Regions from separate parts of the Homo sapiens genome. Here region 1 is linked to region 2. Evidence: promoter capture Hi-C in 16 types of primary human blood cells and fetal thymus (Javierre and others, 2016). All regions are on one chromosome and are shown on one strand. The core of a region is centred on a gene start or on the middle of the fragment in contact, and the rest is flanking DNA. Distances in the headings are between cores, read along the strand shown. Region 1 holds the start of MIB2 (MIB E3 ubiquitin protein ligase 2). Region 2 holds the start of C1orf159 (chromosome 1 open reading frame 159).

Region 1 (6,489 bases), core at 3,014-5,513, 500 kb after region 2:
CAACATGTTTGATCTCTCAGTGTTTCAGACAACAACCTAGTTCATCAGTAACTGAGAATACTCAAGGTCCTGGCCGGGCTTCAAGACTGCAGGGAAAGCATGCAGTGGGCCAGGCTCTGTGCTTCTCAGGCAGGACACAGAGAGAAAGCAGGGGCTCTGGTGAACCTTCCAGTAGAATAAGCAACTGTCCAGACATGGGCCCTCCCCAGGAAGTTACTAGGGGTCTTACTTCAGCAAAGTAAAGGAGTAAAGCCAGAAGGAGGAGGACGCAGATTCCAGGAAACAGCTGTTAACAGAAAAGCCAAACTCTGAATAAGACATTCTTTCCTCCTTCTTTTTTTTTTTTTTTTTTTTTGGAGACAGAGTTTTGCTCTCGCTGCCCAGACTGGAGTGCAACAGCGCAATCTTGGCTCACTGCAGCCTCTGCGTCCCGGATTCAAGTGATTCTCCTGCCTCAGCCTCCTGAGTAGCTGGGATTATAGGCGTGTGCCACCACGCCCAGGTAATTTTTGTGTTTTTAGTAAGAGACGGGGTTTCACCACGTTCCTCAGGCTGGTCTCGAACTCCTGACCTCCTGATCCGCCCGCCTCGGCCTCCCAAACTGCTGGGATTACAGGCGTGAGCCACCACGCCCGGGCTCTTCTTTTTTTTAAAGAGGGCTTCATTCTGTTGCCCAGGTTAGAGTGCAGTGGTGCGATCTCAGCTCACTGCAGCCTCCGTTTCCCAGGCTCAAACGATCCTCCCACCGCAGCCCCCAGAGTAGCTGGAACCATAGGCACGTGCCACCACACCCAGCTAAGTTTTGTATATTTTGTAGAGATGGGATTTCAACATGTTGCCCAGGATGGTCTCTAAATCCTGGGCTCAAGTGGTCCAATCACCTCAGCCTCCCAGAGGGCTGGGATTACAGGCATGAGCCACCATGTCCAGCTTCACAAAATACTTTCAAAAGGTTTACTTTGAGCCAATATGAATGACTGTGGGCCCCAGGAAAACACACATCCGAGAAGCCTTCAGTAAGTGGTTCTGAAGTGGTCGGTTTAGTTTGGTTTTGTACACTTTAGAAAGGCAGGAGTTATAAGCAAAGACATAAATACATACATAGAAGGTATACGTTGGTTTGGCCTAAAAAGGTGGGATATCTTGAAGTGGGGGCTTATAGGTTATAGGCGGATCCACCCGGCTGGAAACTCAGTTTTAAAAATTTCTCTGGGGTCCCCTTGGTCAAAAGGGAATCTGTTCAGTTGGTGGAGGGCTGGCTGGGTGTGGTGGCTCACATCCCAGCACTTTTGTTTTTTCTTTTTCTTTTCTTTTTTTTTTTTTGTTTTTTTTGTTTTTGAGACGGAGTCTCACTCTGTCACCCAGGCTGGAGTGCAGTGGCCAGATCTTGGCTCACTGCAACCTCTGCCTCCTGGGTTCAAGCAATTCTCCCACCTCAGCCTCCCAAGTAGCTGGGACTACAGGCGAGCACCACCAAGCCCGGCTAATTTTTGTATTTTTAGTAGAGATGGGGTTTTGCCATGTTGGCAAGGCTGGTCTCCAACTCCTGGCCACAGGTGATCCTCCCACCTTGGCCTCACAAAGTGTTGGGATTACAGGCGTGAGCCACTGTGCCTGGCTGGTTTTTTTTCTTTTTTTTTTTTTTTGAGACAGAGTCTTCCTCTGTCACCAGGCTGGCGTACGGTGGCATGATCTTGGCTCACTGTAACCTCCGATTCCTGGGTTCAAGCCATTCTCCTGGCTCAGCCTCCCAAGTAGCTGGGATTACAGGTGCCCACCACCACACCCAGCTAATTTTTGTATTTTTAGTAGAGACGGGGTTTCACCATGTTGGCCAGGCTGGTCTCGATCTTATGACCTCATGATCTGCCTGCCTTGGCCTCCCAAAGTGCTGGGATTGCAGGCATGAGCCACCGCGTCTGGCTTTTTTTTTTTTTTTTTTTGAGACGGATTCTTGCTCTGTTCCCCAGGCTGGAGTGCAGTGTCACGATCTCAGCTCACTGCAACCTCCACCTCCTGGGCTCAAGCAATTCTCCTGCCTCAGCCTCCCAAGTAGCTGGGACTACAGGCGTGCACCACCATGCCTGGCTAATATTTTTTTTTTTTGTATTTTTGTATTTTTAGTAGAGACAGGGCTTCACCATGTTGGTCAGGTTGGTCATGAACTCCTGACCTCAAGTGATCTGCCCTCCTCAGCCTCCCAAACTGCTGGGATTACAGGCGTGAAGCCATCGCACCCAGCCAATCCCAGCACTTCAGAAGGCAGAGGTGAGCAAACAGCATAGCCCAGGAGTTTGAGACCAGCCTGGGCAACATGGTGACACCCTGTCTCTACTAAAAATTTAAAAATAACCGGCATGGTGGTGCATGTCTGTGGTCCTAGCTACTCAGGAGGCTGAGGTGGGAGGATCACTTGAATCCAGGAAGCAGAGGCTGCAGTCAACCAAGATAGTGCCACTGCACTCCAGCCTGGGCAACAGAGCAAGACCCTGTCTCAAATACAAAACAAAACAAAAAACAGTTGGTAGAGAGCTTAGGATTTTATTTTTCGTTTACACAGGGAATCCAAGAAAGGAGACAGACAAAGTGAGTCTCAAGGATGAGAGCAGAGAAAAGCTCGAGATAAGAGCTGTGCAGCCGGGTCAGGAAGTGATCGGTCTAGGTCGGAACAGGAGAATCAGTTAGACACAACGGATGTGTTTGAGCCTTTGGAAAACGGTATCGTTAGGCATGTGGCGAAAACGTTGGGGTACTTGAAAAAAAGGCTGGCCATGGGTTAGTAAAAAGCTAGATATGTGAAAATATTAGGTAATTATTAACTCAAAAGAAAAAAAAAGATTGTACAGGAATTGTGGCATGGTTTTATACTGTAGCAGTGAACAGCAGGTACTCAATCATGAAGAGCTAAGCCTGATTTCATCACGACAGCTGTGAAAGTTGCAGGTACCAAAATGGAACTACTTCCACCAATCCCTAAACAAATGGAGTCGGGAGGCCACGAAGGGGGAGCTCTCATGCAGGAATACCTGCAGCAGGCCTCCTCACAAGACGCTCCTGCACGTCCTGCACGTTTGCCTGTAACCGGACTTACTGCAGGGAAATTCCTCAGGACTGCAGTATTCTAGATAAGCAGCTTGCACAAGGACGTCGGCCTGGTAAGGCTCTCTCCAACAACAAGCTAACGCCCACTCCTGCAGCAAGCGCCCACAGCCAGTGGTTTTTGTTACAAAACAACTTTTGTGAGCTCATCTGTATTTTCCCCTTCGCCCGGCCCTCTCAGATAGGCCTATGATCTGTCATGGCACGAACAGCCTAGGCTGCAACCCCCTGCGATTCCCAGATTAACTCACTTGTCCTGGAGAGCCTGCCTCTGGGTTTCCTTTCAGGTTGACAGTTTGGGAGCTAACAGGACCACGTGAGGGGTGCAGCGGGGAAGATCAGCCAGGTTCTCAGGGACCTTCTCCGGAAGTACGCAATGTCTACAATTAAGAAATGAGAGGCCGGGCGCGGTGGCTCACGCCTATAATCCCAGCACGTTGGGAGCCCTAGGAGGGCAGATCACGAGGTCAGGAGTTCGAAATCAGCCTGGCCAAAATGGTGAAACCCCGTCTTGACTAAAAATGCAAAAATTAGCTGTGCGTGGTAGCGCATGCCTGTAGTCCCAGCTGCTCGGGAGGCTGAAGCAAGAGAATAGTTTAAGCCCTGGAGGCGGAGGTTGCAATGAGCCGAGATCGCGCCATTGCACTCCAGCCTGGGCGACAGGGCGAGGCTCCGTCTCCAAAAAAAAAAAAAGAAAGAAAGAAAGAAATGAGAAACTAGCAGTGCATTGTTCAGAAACGCGGAGACTTCTCTCAGGAGAAAGCGAGAAGCAAGCGTCCAACTCTGGGGTGCAGAACCCGGGGCGGGAGGACGGGCCCGGACTGCCGTTTCTCGCTGTGTCCAGGTCTGCGTGACTCAAAACCCCGGATAGGGCCCGCACTGGTGGAGTCGGAAAGAGGTGGCTGCGGCGCGGCAAGTGCCGCCAGTGCCAGCGAGCGCGACGTCGCTCCCAAGCCCCCGTCTCTATGGCAACCGAGTGCGTCTCTAGGACCGCCACTGCGCAGGCGCCCGGAGGCTAAGCCGCTCGGAACCTAGCTGCGCCACGCAGGGTAGGCGACGCAGACGCTCCCGCGTGACGCACTTCCGGTGCTTGCCCTGCCCATCCCCGTGGCGGGGGCGTGGCCATGGCGGGGGCGCTCCGGCGGGGGCGGGCCCTGGGCTCCCGCCCTTCGGGTCCCACAGTTTCCAGCCGCCGCTCTCCTCAGTGCCCGGTGGCCCAGGAGGGCCTGGGAGCCCGAAGCCGTCCCCGAGTCGCTCCTAGGTCACTGGCGCGATGCGGGCCGTCCTCTCGGCTGATGGTGCGTGCGGGCGCGGATCTCCTCCCCTGGTCCTCCGCACCGTCCCCGAGTCGTTCTCCGCTCTGGCAGAACGCGAGCGCCGTCCGGTTCCCGCTCCCGCTGGCCCAGCAGCCCCGGGCTGGACTCGGCGTAGGGTCCGCACGGGATGGGCTGGGGCTGCGCGCGCAGCGCCGCCGCGGGGCCTCCTGGGAGTTGTGGTCCGGCCACCCGCGCGGGACTCCAGCTCCCGGCAGGCCTCGCGCGGCCCGGGGCCAGCGGCGCTGGGGTCGGCGCTGGGGTCGTCGTCCGGGCCGGGTGGGCTGCGGCGCGCGGCAGGCGCTCTGGCCTGGCCTGGCCGCCGCTGAGCAGTCGGGGCCGGTGGGTGGCCTCGAACGCCGGGACAGACCGACAGACGGACTGGCCGGCGGTCCCGCGCCCCCGAGCGGAGCGGGCGGGACGGAAACGTCCGGGCAAGTTGGGGTCGGCAGGTACTGCGCGGCCCTGGCAAGGTCTGGCAGCGGACAGGGCCGGGCGGCCTCCGCGAGCCACGGGCACGAATGACAGGGGGCGGGGCGCGCTCCGGGTGGGGGTGCCCGCCGTGCCCGCCCCTGGCCCGCCCGTTCCCCTGCGCCGGCGCCCGTGCGCGTCCCGGAGCCTCCTGACGTCTGCGAGCCGCGGCCGCCAGACCCCGGGCGCACGCAATTACGGGCCCGGCGCTGGCGGCTCCTGCGCGCTCAGACCCCAGGGAGCCCATCCGGGCAGGCGGCGGCCCTGAGTGTCGCGGCCGTGGGCCCGAGTGGACCTGGAGCCGGCGGGCAGCCCCGGGGGCAGACAGGCGACCGAGCCGCGGGTCGAGGTGCTAACTGTGCATCTTGGCATCTCCCCTCGGCCACAGGGTTGGAAGCCCAGCGAGGCTAGAGGCCAGTCCCAAAGTTTCCAGGCATCAGGGCTGCAGCCCAGGAGCCTCAAGGCGGCCCGGCGGGCGACTGGACGGCCGGACAGGTGAGCTCTTGATCGTCCGCGGCCTGATAGTTTGCACTTGGCTCTCCCACTTTGGGGCTCCGTGGAAGCCACGTCAGAGAGGCTGTGTTTGTGTCTGAGCATGCATGCGAGTGGAGGGGAGTGGTGAGTAATCCCGCGTCTCCTCTCTGAGTTCGGAACCCATGGAGGAAGAAAGCAGAGGTGCCAGACAGGCCTCTGATAGGCACCTGCAGGATTGGGGCAGAGCGGCCGCAGCGCAGGAGCGCCGGCAAGCCTGGCCCTTCCCGGGAGGCCCCCTTTGTCCGGTTCCACCCTGGCCTGTTGCCTCACATGCAACAAGTGTCTGAATGTGGCGCTCTCCTGGCCGAGGGCAGCCCTGGGCGGTGAGTGGGATGACACCCCAGCCTGCAGGGTGCCTGTAGGTCTCCACCCAGATGGGCAGGATTGGAGGTGGCCGCAGCGCTCGTGGGCTTTCCCTCAGCAGGTGTCTCCATGCTGGCCTCCCCGCCTCAGGGCTTCATCCCACTCCGTGGGCCTGATCTCCCTGGGGCACCTGGGATGTCCATCTGCGTTAGCTGGAGCTACTCCATGGCCTGTGGCGTGCCACACACAGCGGCATTTCGGTGTCATTAGGCACAGCTGGAGGTGCAAGGAGGAGGGCAGCCTCATGTCCAGTTCCATGTAACTTGCTTCTTCTGAATAAAGGCAATTTGCTAACTTTCTCGCTAAATAGGATTTGGTTTCTATGGCTTTTAAAGCTTCTCCGATAAAATACTTGCAATAAGGGAACTCTCTCCTCCTACACTCTCCTGACTGATGGTTCGGAAGTCCTCCTGCCCTCTGAGAGCTTGCAGTTTCTTGTGAAAAAGAGAAACTAAGCAGCAATAGAACAGACCCGGTGTCTGCTTGCGTGGTTAAGACGGTAAATGCTAAATGTGTGACACTGCCTTTAGAAACCATTTTCTCCAGCCTGGCTTGCTGGCTGCCCGTCTGGTTTGCTGTGTTGTGTCTCCAGTGGCTTTAGCTTCCAACAGGAAAGCCTGGTAGCCGAGCGAATCTGTGACCCAGGAAGTAGCAATTAAATGCCTGGGACGCTGCCTCGAGGCTGGTGTGTGCTCTGAGGTAAGTTCCG
Region 2 (6,375 bases), core at 436-2,935:
ATCTCCCACCCCAGCACCCACAGCGCTAGCTGTTCTTTAAATGAGCTACCCAGTAAGTCAAAGCTCAGGTGGAGAGCAGCCGCAAGGCAGGGAGCAGCTGGGAGGTATCTCAGGGGTTCCCGGGATGCTGCCTGTGCACCCCAGGGCTGAGGTGACTGCGTGTGGAAACACCTGCCTGACTGGCTTTTAGGAGGAGTACTGGGGGCGGGATGTGTGTCAGGAAAACAACGTTTCTGTATAATTCATAAACATGTATGTTAAAAACAACGTGGCCATGACGGATCCTGGCTGAATGCAAACGGGGAACATAAACCTGAGTAATCAGGCGCATCACTGAACATCCCAGGCGGCCGCCCCTACCCTGGGGCTCAAAACCGGCTCCCTCTGCGAGGGTTTCCCAGGTTAAGCCATCAGGAAACAGGAAGACGCCTAAGAACGATACACTGGACTTTGGGGACTCGGAGGGAAGGGTGGGAGGGGGACAAGGATAAAAAGCTACAAATAGGGTGCAGTGCGTACTGCTCGGGTGATGGGAGCACCAAAATCTCACAAATCACCACTAAAGAGCTTACCCATGTAACCAAGTAACCAAACACCACCTGTACCCCAGTAACTTACGGAAAAATAAAAGAGGAAGACGCAGCTCTGCCTTCTCTGCACACCCTGGTAATACTAAGAAAAATGAAAACCAAAAAAAGGAGGCCAAGTTTGACATCCTGAAATTTAACAGGACGAGGCGGCTAAGAATTCAGCCACAAAATAGTTCCCGGGGAAGAAGCCGCGTTTGCTTTGAAACGCGGTAAGAAATGCCCCCGAACACCTGGGCTTAAATTACACCCAAACTCAATCATCGACTCGCTGCCACCGGAACACGCGCTCCCGAAAAACTGCACCCCGACTAGCCCTCGGCTACTCCAGGTGACAAACGGACAAAAACAAATCCTAAAGCCTCGCGGGAAAAAGACCTGAATCGTGGCCGACTTCTAGGACACCGGGGACCGCGCCGGTGCCCCCACTCCCGGCTGCCGGGAAGGCGAGGCGAACGCGCCCCCTTTCTTCCCCCGGGCGCCCGTCCCATCCCCTCCCCAGGGACCCCCTCCCTGCCCCGAGAACCCCCTCCCCTCCCCAGGTGCCCCCTCTCCCCCAGAGACCCCCTCCCCTCCCCAGGGACCCCCTTCCCTGCCCCGGGAACCCTTCCCCTCCCCAGGGACCCCCCTCCCTCCCCAGGGACCCCCTCCCCTCCCCAGGGACCCCCTTCCCTGCCCCGGGAACCTTTCCCCTCCCCAGGGACCCCCCCTCCCCGCTCCGGGAACCCCCTCCCCTCCTTAGGGACCCCCTCCCCACCCCTCCCCGGGGTCCCCCTGCCCTCCTCAGACGCCCCTTCCCCTCCCCAGGCGTCCCGCTCAGCCCGGGCGCCTTTCCCCCATAGGACCGCGGCCAGGCTCGTTGGGAGGCGGCGACGAGGACGCGGGCCCAGGCGCTGGCGGCTCCTCCGCGCGCCGCACAATGGGGGACGCGCAGGGAACGTCCCTCGGGCCGGGCCAGGGCCGCCGACCTTTGTCTGCCTCTCGCACTCCCTGCGCCGACCCGGCCGCCCAGACGGACCCCAGCGCCCCAACCCGCTACCCTCACGCCTGCCCCCAGCCCCTCACTCACCCCGGCGCCCTCCGGGTTTCTCTTTCGTACACCCCGCCCTCAGGCGGTGGCGCCGCGCCCCCTGGGACTTGTAGTCTTTCTTCCGCCCCGGCCCCGGCGCCAGGCCCCGCAGCTCCCAAAGAAAACTACAACTCCCGGCGGCCCGCGCGAGAGCCGCCCTCGCCTGGTGGTACCATCGCGCGCGGCCGTGGGTGGGGCGCCGGGGCGGGGCGCGAAGCGCCCTGGGAAATGTAGTCCTAGAAGAACCAGCGCATGTCTCGGGTCCCTGACACGGAGGGACTACATTCCCCCGGATTCCTCGCGCGCCGGCTGCTTGGCGTTGCCGGGAGACGGGGCGGGGCGTCGTCGGGGTCTCCCGGGCGACCGCACAAGCGTCGGCGTCCTTAGCGTTCCGCCGGTTTAGGCGGAGGCGGAGGCGGAGCGTTTGGGGGCGGCCGGGGCGGCTTCGGCTTCATCGGAGAAGGCGGCGCGGCTGCACCAGGTTTGGCCGCGGGCGCGCGGGGCCAGCGCCCTCCAGACCCACGGAGCGCCCCGAGCGCCTCGCGAGCCGCCGCCAAATGCGCCCCAGGTCCGCGGCCGGCGCCAGTGCTGGGACCTCGGCGGCCGGTGTCGGAGCGCGGCGGGAGAGACCCTGCCTTGGGTGCGGGACTGGGACGGCTCGGACCCAGAGGGCTCCCGGGGCTTCGCCTCTCGGACGGGTCAGGGCTCTGCGGTCTCAGGACGCTCCCCCGTGAGTCTCGGCGGCCCCGGGGTCTGGGCGGCGTCGCTGCCCCACAGGCCGGGCGCGTGGGTTTTTCCGGGGCTCTGCCTCTGAGCCACCCTCGGAGAAAAGACAGCTCTGTGCGTCCCGCGGCGCCCGCAGCTTTCGGCAAACATGTTTAAAGGAGCTCCCCGAAGGAACTGGGGACGTCCGTCCGCTCATCAAAGGCTTCAATCCTGTCGGTGTCCCCGGGCCCTCTCCTAGCTGGGCCAGCGCGCAGGGTGGGGGGGCGCTGCAGGTGTCGCGGCCCCCCCCAACCTCCGCAGACCCTTCCAACCCCTCAGACCCCCCAAAACCCCCAGATCCCCCAACCCCCCATATACCCCCAACCCCTCAGACCCCCCAACCCCCCAGACCCCCCAACCTCCCAGGCCCCCAGACCCCCCAGCTCCCTTGCTCCCGGGAGCTCCCAGGCCCGTCCTGCATGCGCCTTGGGGTTGTTCCTCCTTGATGGACGCCGCCTCCGGGTTCCATCCCAAGTTTAAATGCCAGAGATTTCAATGGAAATAAAGCCCCCATCTTAACAGCGTGAGGATGTTTTGTAAACAGTATTGGGGACAGCTGGGGAAGTCACATTTGTGTCTTCTCTTTAGAGGGACAGTGTTCGCCTGAGGGTCCATCCCAGGGTTCCCTCAGGGCCTCTGGAGGAGTTGATGCCACCAGTGTCTGGCCGTGGGACACCTGGGCGTGGGCGCCCAGCACCAGGGGTTCGCTGACAGCTGCAGGGTTTCCGGCCATGCGCCCGCGGACGTGCAGCTTCTGTGTCGGTCCCATTAAGAGGAACCTGGCCTGGGCGACGTTTGAGGACCACGGGGAGGACACAGTCGCGGTCCCCTTCTCGGAGTCCAGTCTGTGCCACAGGCTCTTGCCGTCTGCGGCAACTCATTGTGGAGCTGAGCCAGTGTTTCCACTTCCTTTTTGTTTTTTTGTGTTTGAGAGGATTTCACGCTGTCACCCAGGCTGGATGCAGTGGCATGATCGTGGCTCACTGCAGCCTGGACCTCCTAGGCTCAAGCGATCCTCCACCTCAGCCTCCAGAGTAGCTGGGACCACGGGTGTGTGCCACCATGCCTTGACACATATTTCTTTATTTTTTTGTAGAGACGGGGGTCTGTTTTGCCCAGGCTGGTCTCAAACTCCTGGGCTCAAGCAGTCCTCCCGCCTGGCCCTCCCAAAGTGCTGAGACTACAGGCGTGAGCCACCATGCCTGGCGTCCACTTTCTTGACTATTTCCTGAAGACCAGCGTTTCCCGGGTGGTTTCACAGCTGCGGAAGCTGCCTGTGTCAGTGTCAAGTCCCTACCCCTCGGCTTGGCCTGGGGCTGTGGCCCTGGGTGACCGTGTCCTTATGCTGGAGCTTGGTCCACAAGTGTCCCCGCCCCTTGTTCCGTCACTCATGGTGGTCTGCACCTCTCTACACGTTGGCCCCTGTCAGAGGGAAGAAGGCAAAGTCCTGGAGCTGCGGGAAGCCGTGCAGTGCATGTGTGTGTGCCTCGGGCCCGGGCTGCAGGCCCCAACAGGGCCCACCCAGCACCTGCTGAACTGTGCTCTGAGACCAGCACCCACCTGATCTCTGGGAGCAGAGCCCCTGCCGGCGTGGGCCAACCTGACAGCAGCTGCCTGGGCACTGGGCACTCCCTCGTCTGTCAGGCGGGCAGTGGATAGCTCGTCCTCTCCCTGGGGAAGGGAGACGAGGCCATGCGAGATGTCCCTGGAGGCTCCCTCCTGAGTAACCGCACGGGGTGCACATTCCCGAGAACACGAAAGGGTGCAGGATTCCACTAGGCCAGGTGGAAACATAAGGACACCGTAGGGTCGCATCAAGTTGAAGGACAATCTCTAGACTAAAACAGAAACGACATTTACTCCCCTAAGGGCCACACGGGCTGAATCCCATCCTCAGGTTATAGCAGGGATGCTAGGTCTGAAAGCCACAGGGGAGCATCGTAAGTCGCAGGTGCCCACAGATCACACCAGGGACCCCACCTCTGCCAACCGGGCTGTTTGTGTCCCCGAAAGGGAGCACTTTCCTCCCCAGAGACTTCAGGTGCAGTATGGGAAGGTTGGGGAACTAAAAAGCTGTGCACTAATATTTTTTGTATTAAAATAGAACCATCTTATGTTTGTAATGCATGGGGTTTTGTAGGGGCGGGATGTTTTGTTGAGATGAGGACTCGCTCTGTCGCCCAGGCAGGAGTGCGGTGGTGCCATCGTAGCTCACTGCAGCCTCGACCGCCCGGGCTCAAGGATCCTCCTGCCTTGGCCTCCCACAGCACCTGGGGCCACAGGTGTGAGCTGCCGTGCCCAGCCCGGCATTCATAATGCTCAAGAGAACTTGTCCTGAGAGAGGGTCGGCTTTGCCACTGAATCATCTTTCAAATGAGGAAATTATTTAGGCTCTGTAGTGTAAGTGGAATCTTACTGCATTTATGTAGGGTCTTGGAAAACTTAAGAGATTTTAGGAACAAACTATATGTTTAACGAGTCTGGAGGTATATCAGTGATTTAGTGGGGAAGATTTTGTTAATTCAAAGTGTTTGCAAACGAGTTAGAACATACGCATTTGTAAATACAGTGTAAAATGTTTGCTGGTGGGCTGTGAATTAAGAGCAGAAGGAGATGCCACCGCCTGTCCAGATGGCCAGGATTTAAACAGCCACAGCTGGTCCCTCATGCACTGCGGGGGTTGCGGAATGGTGCGGCCCCCTGGAGAGCCCTTGGCAGTTCCTTAAAAATTGGAACATGCAGGTGCCGTGGAAGGCAGCAGTGGCATTCTGGGGCATTCATCTCAGAGAAATAAAAACTTCACACACTCGCCGGCAGCTTCATTTTAATAGCTCCAAACTCGAAACAACACTCCCCCCCAGGTGGGTGGTGAGCCCACCCCGTGCAGACACCCTGAGGAGCGGGCACCATGAAGAGGCCAGGATCCGGCTGGGCGCGGTGGCTCACGCCTGGAATCCCAGCACTCTTGAGAGGCCAAGGCGGGCGGATCACTTGAAGTCAGGAGTTTGAGACAGGCCTGGCCAACATGGTGAAACCACGTCTCCATTAAAAATAAAAAAAAATTAGCCAGGTGTGGTGACACACGCCTGTAATTCCAGCTACTCAGGAGGCTGAGGCATGAGAATCACTTGAACCCAGGAGACAGAGGTCTCAGTGAACCGAGATCGCGCCCCTGGGCCACAGAGCGAGACTCCATCTCCAAAAAAAAAAAACCCAAAAAACGAAAAAAAAAAAAAAACCAACAACAACAAAGGAGGCAGCGTCCATCTGGGGGGACCTGAACAACTCCAAGGGCCTTGGCTGGCGAGAAAATCCTGCCTCAAAAGGGCGCGTGCTCGGTGGTTCCACGGTCTACCATTCCCTCTTAAAAATGTTTTTAAGCAGAGACGGAGACTTGCTGTGTCGACCCGGCTGGTCTGGAACTCCCAGGCTCATGCGACCTGCCCCCCTCCCACCGTGCCTGGTTCTACAGCTCTTAAAGGGCAAAACGGTGAAGCTGGATCACAGATCACAGTGGTGAGCAGGGGTGGGGCGGGCACCCCAGGGGTGCGGGAGGTTGGACCACTCACATGGGCCTGGATGCCTCCTGGTTATGACACTGCCTTCCTGTTCCTGCCGTTCCGCTGGGGGAAGCAGGGGTGGGGGGTGGGGGTCCCTGAGCTCCGCTGGGGGAAGCTGTGGTGGGGGATCCCTGAGCTCCTCGGCCCTGACTGGGCTTAATGGTCTCTGGGCCTTTGACTTTGTCCTTTATTCTAGGACATGGCTATTTGGACAAATAGTTCAAAACCCCTAGAAGATGCCGGGCTTGGTGGCCCAAGCCTGTAATCCCAGCACTTTGGGAGGCCAAGGCGGGCGGATCACCCAAGGTCAGGAGTTCAAGACCAGCCTGACCAACATGGTGAAACCCCGTCTCTACTAAAAATACAAAAATTAGCTGGACATGCTGGCATGCGC

Evidence for each region. Contacts are between HindIII fragments. The CHiCAGO score rates a contact against its expected background, and 5 or more counts as called.
Region 1: the fragment with the promoter of MIB2 here is called in contact with the fragment with the promoter of C1orf159 in region 2 in 1 of 17 cell types (fetal thymus); the score reaches 5.6 in fetal thymus.

What each region holds. Positions count from the first base shown.
Region 1 is chr1:1,611,237-1,617,725 of GRCh38, forward strand. MIB2 (MIB E3 ubiquitin protein ligase 2) reads left to right here and starts at 4,264. Exons shown (of 20, transcript NM_001170687.4): 1 at 4,264-4,397; 2 at 5,272-5,378. RefSeq lists an enhancer at 3,759-3,928 and silencers at 4,029-5,078, 5,109-5,198. The HindIII fragment of the contact is 6,747 bases long and covers 1-6,113 here.
Region 2 is chr1:1,114,404-1,120,778 of GRCh38, forward strand. It overlaps C1orf159 (chromosome 1 open reading frame 159), which reads right to left and starts at 1,686. Exons shown (of 10, transcript NM_017891.5): 1 at 1,657-1,686. RefSeq lists silencers at 1,377-1,976, 2,147-2,266, 2,307-2,356. The HindIII fragment of the contact is 13,608 bases long and covers 1-6,375 here.